Linked DNA regions of Homo sapiens: regions 2 and 3 are each linked to region 1. Evidence: promoter capture Hi-C in human tissues and cell types (Jung and others, 2019). All regions are on one chromosome and are shown on one strand. The core of a region is centred on a gene start or on the middle of the fragment in contact, and the rest is flanking DNA. Distances in the headings are between cores, read along the strand shown.

Evidence for each region. Contacts are between HindIII fragments. The study calls those that stand out against the background at their distance.
Region 2: a contact is called between a fragment that was not itself captured here and the fragment with the promoter of DMRT3 in region 1, in 11 of the 25 tissues and cell types used here (H1 embryonic stem cells, adrenal gland, dorsolateral prefrontal cortex and 8 more).
Region 3: a contact is called between the fragment with the promoter of DMRT2 here and the fragment with the promoter of DMRT3 in region 1, in 1 of the 25 tissues and cell types used here (neural progenitor cells).

Annotation. Positions count from the first base shown.
Region 1 is chr9:975,034-978,738 of GRCh38, reverse strand. DMRT3 (doublesex and mab-3 related transcription factor 3) reads right to left here and starts at 2,084. Exons shown (of 2, transcript NM_021240.4): 1 at 1,284-2,084. The coding sequence starts at 1,737. RefSeq lists enhancers at 1,917-2,416, 2,417-2,918, 3,451-3,705. The HindIII fragment of the contact is 20,406 bases long and covers 1-3,705 here.
Region 2 is chr9:889,574-893,278 of GRCh38, reverse strand. The region is part of intron 2 of DMRT1 (doublesex and mab-3 related transcription factor 1); the gene reads right to left. Among named protein-coding and RNA genes, the nearest start is that of DMRT1, 50 kb to the right of the region's middle. The HindIII fragment of the contact is 7,219 bases long and covers 1-3,705 here.
Region 3 is chr9:1,049,107-1,051,606 of GRCh38, reverse strand. DMRT2 (doublesex and mab-3 related transcription factor 2) reads right to left here and starts at 1,250. Exons shown (of 4, transcript NM_181872.6): 1 at 832-1,250; 2 at 1-37. RefSeq lists an enhancer at 609-1,478. The HindIII fragment of the contact is 14,990 bases long and covers 1-2,500 here.

The DNA.
Region 1 (3,705 bases), core at 835-3,334:
TGTTCTCAGAGCTTCAGGCCTGGAAAGCATGGCGGAAAGACAGGGCAGCAGAACTCCACCTGCCAGTCACCCGTTGACTCACCATGAAACAGGTGAGTCCGCCTCACTTCCTCAGCTCCACAGGATCCAGACAAAGCAGTCCTGGGCTCCTGAAAGCCTTTCTCCGAAGCTAGGGGTACCGTCTTTAGGGAGTTGGCAGGTCAGTGTAGGTACCAGTTTTGCCACAGTTCTACTTACAGGAGGGCTCTGGACCTTCCCACTCCTAATTCCAGCATGCCCCCTTCCGGGAGAAGGTGGGCTGTGTTCCTTTGCACATTTGCCCCAGTTAAGGAGAAACACCAAACACATATCCACTGAATTCCAAGAGCCATCAAAAGAGCTCTTGAGCTGGGCAGAACCGCAAGCTAGAAATTCCCCAGGAAGAGAGAGACTAAGAGACTCAACTCAGGCCTGCCAAGCTCAGGAGGCCTGGATGGAAACGGATGGGTGGTGGGGGATCAGATTTTTTGTATTCCTTTAAACCACGAAGACAGCTGAGGGCAGCCTGGGGAACAGTGTTAAAGGATCTAGGAGGTTCTGCAAAGGAGTGAATTCTGGGCGCATCAGATTCTTTTCCCGCTATCAGCTCACAAGCCTTTCCGGACCCTTTTACTATCATTGCTAAATGGAACTTATTTCACCAGTTACAAGAGTCTGGAGGCCACGGAGCAAAGCTAGAAAGGCCAGGGTTCTGAGAGTTGGATACTTGTCCTCACTCAAATTTTCCTGGGCCCTGGGCAGGGCCGGGCCGGCCGAGAAGCACAGCCAGCTCGACTCAGCCGAGTGTTGGCCTTGGCTCCTTCCCTACACCTACCTACCCATTCCAACCCCCAAATGGCAAGGACCTCTAAAGCCTGCAGCCAGGAAAATCCGACCCCACCGTAGTGAGTGTGCGCACGTGGGTTTTAATTTTGTCCTGTCTCAACTCCGTTGTCTCCCTGCTCAATCTGACACGTTCCGAACCCTTCAACCTGGGAAGGCACCTGGCGATACTGACGCACAGTCCCGTCGTTTGGCTGCCCGGAGGCGCCTTCCCTGCGGGCGCGAGTGCCACTCGCGCTGGGTCCAGACTCAGCCGGCTTCTCCCGGGAGAGGAAGCCCCGGCCTGGCGGAGAGTAGGAAGGAAAGCCCCGACAGGCCCACGTCCCAAAACTTTGCCTCCAGTCCTCCCAAGTGGAGCTGCAGCTGGCACTCCGAAGTTGCCCCCGCGCCCGGCCAAACTCCCGCACCTCAGACGCTCTTACCTGGCTTGGCGAGCTGCGCCTGCAGAGCCCCGGGCTGCGGCTCGGCAGTCCAACGCAGCGCGGCGGCCGCGGCCAACTCGGCAGCAGGGCGCGGCGGCTGCGGCTGCGACGGCTGAGAGGCTGGCGGCGGCTGCGGGGCGGCGACGGCGTCCCCCGGCGGCGGGGGCCCTGGCAGAGCGCGCAGCGAGTCGGGGATGAGGCTCTCCAAGCTCTCGTTGGCCTGCTGCCGGCGCAGCGCCACCTGCGCAGCCATGACCCGCTGCCGCTCGATGATGAGGATGCACTTCTCGCAGGTGCAGTCCTTGAAGCGGCAGTAACGCTTGTGGCCCTTGAGCCAGGACAGGACGCCATGGTTGCGGCAGCGCGCGCACTTGGGCGTGCGCTGCAGGGGCGCCCGTGGCGGCTGCGACACCGGGCCGCCCATGTACAGGTAGGGGGAGCCGTAGCCGTTCATGCCCCGGGCTCCCGAATGAGTTGGCAGCCTGGCTGCGGGAGAGGGCCAGGGAGCGCTGGACGGCGGGGCTGCGAGGCCCGCTCAGGGGCGGCCTCCGGGCGACGCGGCCCTTGGTCCCGCAGCCCCGGTGGTCGTGTGTGCTCCGGGGCGGCCGGAGGTGCCGCAGTCGTCTCTCCAGCTCCCTTCGCGCTCACAGCTCGGCCTCCCAGCTCACGCCCAGCCAACGCCGACGCGGGCCTCTGCCTTGGGCGCGCAGCCGGGTCGGCACGTCCTCCTTCGCGGAGGCGCTGCGGCGGCTGCAAGGAGCCGGCGACAGCTCTGATTAAGGTCTGAGCCAGCTCTTCTGCAGCTCCCTCGTGAGCCGGCCGGACCCAACACCTCCGCCGCCCTCCCCCAACCCCTCCTCCTTCCCACCGCCACCCCCGCCCCTGGGGTCCCTGTCTCCTTGCACTCCCCGCCCCACGCCTTCCTCCTCCTTTGCGCCCCTCGGGTGCCTGCACTTCACCTTCCTTGCCACCTGCAGCCAGGCCACTCTCGCGGGGGCGCTCGCGGCCCCCTCCTCCAAGCCCTCTCCGCTACCCCAGCCCGCGGCTGGAGACTGCGGCGCTCCAGAACGCGGCGGTGCTCGCGGGGCGGAGAAGGGGAGGACCAGCGGGAGTGAGGGTGGGGGTGCCTGTAAGCGAGTGAGGTGGCCGCTCCGCTTCTCTCTCTTCTCCTCCCTCCAGTCCAGATCTGGCCGCGTTTTTCCGAGCCCAAGGCCGCTTTTATCCCGACATTTGGCCGCAGAAGCTCAGCTCCGGGAGAACTCGAACCTACGGGAGTGTTGCGGTTGCACCCCGGACCTGGGTGGAGTTTAGGATAGGGGAGTGAAGTGATGTTGGTTTAGGAAAGTTAGGCTCTTTTCGTAATTTCCTTTTAGAACGTATTTTTTTCTCTTTTGTTGCTTTAGAAGAAAATGGTTTTGGAGATCTGCCGGCCCAAGGATGACAAGCCATTTTGCAGGCGAATTTTACTTTTCTACCCTCCTGTCCATGTTTTAATATAAAACAGTATCCTGAAAGGTCAGGGACGTACGTGCTCCTGTAAAGGATTTGTTAAGCGCCGGGTATAAACTTTCAAGGGGCAGACACAGAAGCCACATTGGCGCCCCCAAAGTTACCGATATCCTCTTCCCTCGCTCCCAGCAGCTACTGGAAGCAAACGGAGGTCTTGCGCCAGCCACTCAGTTCAAATCCCCACGGATTCTGTGATTCAGTTATGGATATGGGATGGGGCCACTTTTTCACCTCCTTAACCCATAGACCCCAGTCATAGATGTCTTGGGGGAGAGGGTCCTTCACAAGATGACAGCAGAAAACTTTGTTTAGATTATTTGCGTGTTCCCATTCTCCCAGGAGTAGCGGGCTTGGCCTAGTGCAGACTATCGCTATATATGCACAAAGAAGGCCCTCCACCCTCGCACCTCCCCACTGCCCATCAGCAAACAAGCAAAAACCAAAAAACAAACAAACAAACAAAACAAGTGGATACACTGCAGGGCAGCACAATAGCTCTATGCGAAGCGGGGCAGTTCCAGAGCCTTCGGTGGATGCGCTTCTGAGAGCGTGCACCAAGCCCATCTCCTGGTGGGGAATCAAATGCTAGATGAGAGCGTAGGCAAGTCCGCTGCAATGTCCGACCCCTCATGGGCACAGAGGCCCTTGTCCCCTCGGGGAGGCCGCTTTTCTCTGTACTGCCCTGGAAGTAAGCAAGCAACCTGAAAACTTTCCTCTGGTGTTTGCCATGAATTCAAGGGAAGCACCTCCAGGCGTTCTAGCAGCCAACCCTCTGCCCAGAAGGCTGATTTGCGGAGAGGAGGGTTGAAAACCGAACCCCAGTTGTGTGTTTCCCTTGAAGCCCTTAGCTGTTCCCGTTTCATACGCGTCCGGGAGGTGGGGATCGCGGGACACTGACCTGGTAGAGTGTGGA
Region 2 (3,705 bases), core at 812-3,311, 85 kb after region 1:
ACTAGTTTCCCAACCTCTGGCACAGACATTAAAGTGTTTATTGTCAATTCCAATAAATGAATTCCTAAGTCATCCATCCAATGGACATTTATTAAACAATGTTCTAAGAGCCAGTCCGGGTGCCTGAAACGTCTGCCAGCTGCCGTGCCCACAGGGAGTCTACGGTCTAGGATAGAAGATGGGAAGGGAATACCACCTACCACCTACCATCATACAGGAAGACCCATAAACTTCCATGGGAAGTCAGAGGAAACAGAGATGGCTTGTAGCCTAGTTAGAAATTCATGGACAAAACTGCACCTGAGTTGCACTTAAAAAAAGATGCAGGACACAGGTGAAAAATGAGAAAAGGAGAGGAAGGAGAAAGGAGCAGCAAGGACAAAGGAGTGGAAGCAGGAAAGTGGGGGTAGAGTTTGGAATGATGGGCAGGGAAGTGAGGCTGAGGAACTGGATGAGAAAAGGGAAGGAGACATGTAGTATGAAAGATGGGCTAGGGTAAGGTGAGGCGGGCCTCAGTCCAGCTCTCCTGACTCTGGGATGTAATGGGAACCACTGAGTTCTGAGCAAGGAGGTTACACGGTCAGAGCTGTGCTTGGAGGAGATTTATCTAAGGGCAACTGCTTAGGGCAAGTGAAGGAGAGAGAGATCAGAGGCAGAAAGACCTGCTAGGGAACCACCAAAGTGAGTTCAAGGACAGACCAGAACTCTAAGGCCTGCAAATGTAAGAGAGGAGCCTGTTCCAGGGACATGTGGGGGATGAAACGCAACAGAACTGGAGGGCTGAGGGGCTGCCAGGAATTAAGATGCAGGGGAGGCAGAGAGCAGGAGCCTGGGTGTGTAGAGCAGAGGGTGGGCAGGTGTGCAGGTGGAGGGCTGGGTGAGGGTGAGGAACATGAAACGCGTGCTTTTGGGAGAGGCTGAGACTGGAAGCCAGATCCAAGAGTCACCACTGGAGGTGCTAGCTCCATCTGGGCAAGGAAGGGAGGAGCTGTTACAGAATAAAGGAGAGCCAAGACCTGGAGCGTGAAAAACAGAGAATACAACGTCACAGAGGTTAAAGCTGACTTGAATCACAGAGCAAGCAGGCTGTGGTGTCAACTGCTGCTGGGACATCAAGCAAACAGTTCTAGAAAAGACCAACAGACAACTAGGTCTTCAGGGCCTTGCGGTTTTAACCATGATGAAAGGAGCAGATGCAGGCCTGCAAGAGAGCAAGGAGCAACAAGCAACAAGAAATCCAAAGAGATGACTCCAGTGAATGGCCTCTCTCCTACCAGGACTACCAGGACGTGAGATCCAGCAAGAAGGCACCCAGCCTCCGGGCACACCACTGTGTCCTCCGTGCTTAGCACACTGCCAGACACAGTGGGTCAATATTTGCTGAAGGGACTGAGGAATAATCATTTTTCAAGTAGCTTGGCATCAAAAATAATGTGAGTTAAAAGTAAAAGCTCCAGCCAGGCACGGTGGCCCACGCCTGTAATCCCAGCACTTTGGGAGGCCGAGGCAGGTGATTCACGAGGTCAGGAGATCAAGACTATCCTGGCTAACACGGTGAAACCCTGTCTCTACTAAAAATACCAAAAAAAAAAAAAAATTAGCCAGGCGTGGTGGCGTATGCTTGCAGTCCCAGCTACTTGGGAGGCTGAGGCAGGAGAATCGCTTGAACCTGGGAGACAGAGGTTGGAGTGAGACGATATTGGGCCACTGCACTCCAGCCTGGGCGACAGAGCAAGACTCCGTCTGGGAGAAAAAAAAAAAAAAGTAAAACCTCCAGGGAGTCATAAGATCTTGTCGTTTCACTTTTATTTTGTTTATTTACTTATTTGAGACAGGGTCTCACTCTGTCGCCCAGGCTGGAGTGCAGTGGTACGATCTCGGCTCACTGCAACTTCCTCCTTCTGGGCTCAAGCGATCCTCCCACCTCAGCAGCCCAAGTAATTGGGAATACAGGCGCAAGCCACCATGCCTGGCTGATTTTTGTATTTTTTTTAAGTAGAGACGGGGTTTCACCATGTTGGCCAGGCTGATCTCGAACTCCTGAGCTCAAGCAATCTGAATTTTAATAAGCTCTTAGCTTTTTTTTTTTTTAATTTTTTTGTATAGAGATGGGGTCTCACTATGTTGCCCAGGCTGGTCTCAAACTCCTGAGCTCCAGCAATCAAACCACCTTGTCCTCCCAAAGTGCTACGATTACAGGCATGAGCCACTACACCTGGCCTTGTTTCACTTTTCTAAAAAGGTTTAAGGCTGAGCGCGGTGGCTCACGCCTGTAATCCCAGTACTTTGGGAGGCTGAGGTAGGTCTGATCATTTGAGGTCAGGAGTTCGAGACCAGCCTGACCAACATGGTGAAACCCCGTCTCCACTAAAAAAAAAATACAAAAAAAAATTAGCCGGACATCGGCATGGTGGTGCGTACCTGTAGACCCAGCTACTGCAGAGGATGAGGCAGGAGAATTGCTTGAACCTGGGAGGCCGAGGTTGCAGTGAGCAGAGATCGCGTCACTGCACTCCAGCCTGGGTGACAGAATGAGACTCTGTCTCAAATAAAAAAATAAAAATAAAGAAATAAATAGAGGTTTAAGTGTCCTTAAGCAGACAGAATTGGCTCATGAGAGAAATTTCCAGCACAATGCATGGCCCAAAGAAGGTGCCCAGAAACCATCCACTGGCTGAGTGTGTGGGAAAACAAAAACATGCAAGGGAGAGGGCAAAACTAAAGTGCAAGCTCTGGAAGGTCTGGCTGAGATCTACAACAAAATTTATTTTTGAAGCCTCATTTTAAAGTCAGCATTGGTGTCACTTTTCTCTGAAAGGAAACCAAATCCACCTATGCTAGGCTCCTGTAAATGCACTCCCAAACCACTGTTTTATTCTATTCCTTTCCTTTCTTCTCTCCTCTTCCCAGCTAATGAGATGAGACATTCCAATGCCATTATTCCACACCCCCAAGTCTGGAGAGGGCACATGTCCATTCGCTCCTCCTCAACTTCCCCACTGGGCCTTTCTCTTATTTTAAACATCAGTTTGGGCCGGGTGCGGTGGCTCACGCCTGTAATCCCAGCACTTTGGGAGGCTGAGGCGGGCGGCCTGAGATCTCAGCTCAGTCGGCCTGAGCCAAGATCACGCCACTGCACTCCAGCCTGGGTGACAGAGCAAGACTCCGGCTCAAAAAAAAAAAAAAAAAAAAACACGTTTGGTGGCGTTAAGTGGTGGTTTTCTATATCATTCTTTTGTTTTCAAGGTCATGTCTCTATTGTTTATCTGATTACAAAAGCCTTATGAGCTTCTCAAATTTAATAAATTATATGAGCATCTAAGTCAGAAAAAGAATAAATGACCTATCCTACCATGCAGTCATAAACATTAATGGTTCATTCCTATACAATCTCACAGACATTTAGGAAGGCATTTTAGACACTTAGGCCTGTCCCTGCATTAAAAACACTGAATACCTCCCACTTAAGGCCTGCCTTTCAAAAGCAAGCTTCTTAAAAAAGAAAACAAAATACAGTAGCAGACGAATAAATAGAAACCCAAGGATTCCAGCATTCCAGAATCAGGGCACAGCACAAGTTCTTGAATTTCTGCAGCATGACCTTAATCTGAACCTTTTATCAGGCCTCAGTTTATCAAGCAACAAAATAATGGCAGTAATAACTCTGAAGGTAACAAGAGAATGGCTTCAATAAACTGCATAGTA
Region 3 (2,500 bases), core at 1-2,500, 74 kb before region 1:
GGGGCTTCGCTGGGGCCTGAGCCTGGCGGCCCTCACTCTGGGGAAACACAAAGAAATCCAAAGACCCACCGGCCGCCGTCAGGGACCATCCCTGAGCCTCCGGCCCAAAGCTCCTGGTCTGCCCGCCTCCGGCCGCTTGAGTCATCCTGTTCTCATTACATGTCCCTCACTTCCAGGCCACACGTGCCTTTCCTGTATCTCCAGGGCCCCCAGGGATCCACAACCCAACAAAGGTTTTATTTTATTAATTCTAAGTGCTCTGTGAGTACCTGACCTTTAACCGTGGCCCTCTCTGGCTTTACACGGGCTTTCCGGACAAGTCCCTGGGTAACTCACTTATCACACACACACAAAATATTGTGTCCAAATAGGCAGCCCCAGGCCACTTGTCGGATTTCCCCATACTCAACTAGTATGGCCATGATGCATATAAAACTATCCGTGGAAGAACAGTTTTCCTTTGATTACAAGTGGCCCTTCAGACTCACTGAAGTACCACTCTATGCTTCCCAAATGCCTCTCATCAGCCTACACCACCACAAGGACCCCTCCTTGGGCTTGAAGAGGTCCTCTCACCCCCCTCCCCAAAATACTCAACTGAAAACCAAAATTTTGTTGTCATTAGCGTCCCATAAGGGCAAAGAGCACAATACAGACGCCCGTCCAGCCTTAATAGTACCTGAGGTGCACAGGGCTGAGCCGCGTGGGCTCTCTGTACTTAGGCCTTGGTTTATATATTTAAGGTAAGGCATCCAAGTCACACAGAAAAGGTGAAAGATGATTCACGCCCTTTGCCCTCCCTGACACCCCGAGCGGCATCACAGCACTCACCAAAACTTTGAGGCCCGGGCTGGTAGCCCAGTTAAAAGATATCCAGCTTTAGGATCTGGCGCTAGGGCTGCTGGCTGTGCATGCAAACAGAAATCGGGGTCGCTACCCTCAAACACGAGATCGGGAGCTGATAGCTGGAGGCCCGGAACGAACCCACTGGATGGTGGAGGGGGAGGGAGAAGGTAGGTGGAGGGAAGGAGGGAGGAAGCCAGTCAAGTCCTCAGCGACCTAGCCCAGCACATCCCGAACTCTGCAAAGTTCTGCTCGGTCTTCTGCAGCCTCGGGCGCCTCACCTTGCTGAGGCCGCTTTCGGCTTCCTCTGACCCAGGCTGGGCGGGAAAGGTCGGGCCGCCCCCGCCTGGCTCAGATCGCTGGCTCACCCGGCGGGCGCGCGCAGTTGCATTCAGCGCAGCGCCACTGGCTTCAGTCTGCAGACTGCGCTCCCCTTCCTAGTACTGTCCGCTCAGGCCCCGGAGCTTTACGTCCTCTGATTGGCCGGTTGTCAGGCGGTGTGAATACTGATTGGCCGAGGCACGCTGGCAGGGAGCCCTCCGCCTCCCGCGGTCTACACTCTTCTCTCTGAAGCGCTCCGCCAGAGTCCGCCTACCGGGCCTTCGGTGCAGCCGGCTCGCCTGTCCAGAATCTAAACCCGAGGTATGACGGTGCCTGCAAGAGAGAAGTCACCATTTATCTCGCGGACTGGGAAACAAGCAGAGATACATTCTTAGGAATGCGTTGTCCACAAGAGAAGGTAATAAACGACGAGGAAGAGATCAGAAAGACCAGTATTGGCCTCTATCAGCATCACAAGCATTTCTGCGACTCAATCAATCATTAATCCAAACTGGGCGTAAAAATGATGCCTCTCTTTCGGGGCGTACAGCGACATCCTTCTTTCTCCTGCAAGAGTACATCAATGGTTACCTGGCACCGAAACTCCTAGTTAGCATACAAATAGCCTGTTGATATTTCTGTGTCTAGTGCCACCTATTCTCGAAGTGCCAAATAGCTCCTCATTAACCTTCACCGAGCCCGTGTGGCAGGTGGCCAAGTCGACTACAAGTCACTTACATTTTTCTGTTATATCAGTTGCTATTACAGTTAATGTAGGGAAGATCAGAAATGCATGCTATTAAGAGAATTAGGTAAATCCATTCACACTAAGCATGCATTTAAACAAAGTTATTTTTAAAAAGATGACTACTTTTTAGTGTGCGTAGTTGTATTTATAGACTTTCTAACGACTCCCTCAAAAAATCCTTTACAAAATGTTTAACGATAAAAAATTTTCAACATATTAAAAGAAGGAATTAGTCTTCTAATTCAACGCTGCATTCTATTTCTTGAACTCAATTAAAAATAATATGGGCGCTTTTCTAACTGCATCTGTAAATAATCAAGACCTCTCGAGTAGGATCTGTTTAGGAGACTACAAAATTGGGTATCATTGCACTGAGTACATAGTAGGCCCGCAACAAATATTTGTTGAAGGGTGGGAATTCCTGACGTAATCCCAACGTTACTTTTGTCCGAGTTTGTCAGAATGTTAAAAGTTAACCTGGATCAGAGAAGTGGGAACAAAGGCAGCTTAGGAACTACCGCGACCAGCCAGAAGCACTATTCTCAAACCTTCAGTGATGTTGTAAAGTTCCTCCCCGGTGACCAGGCA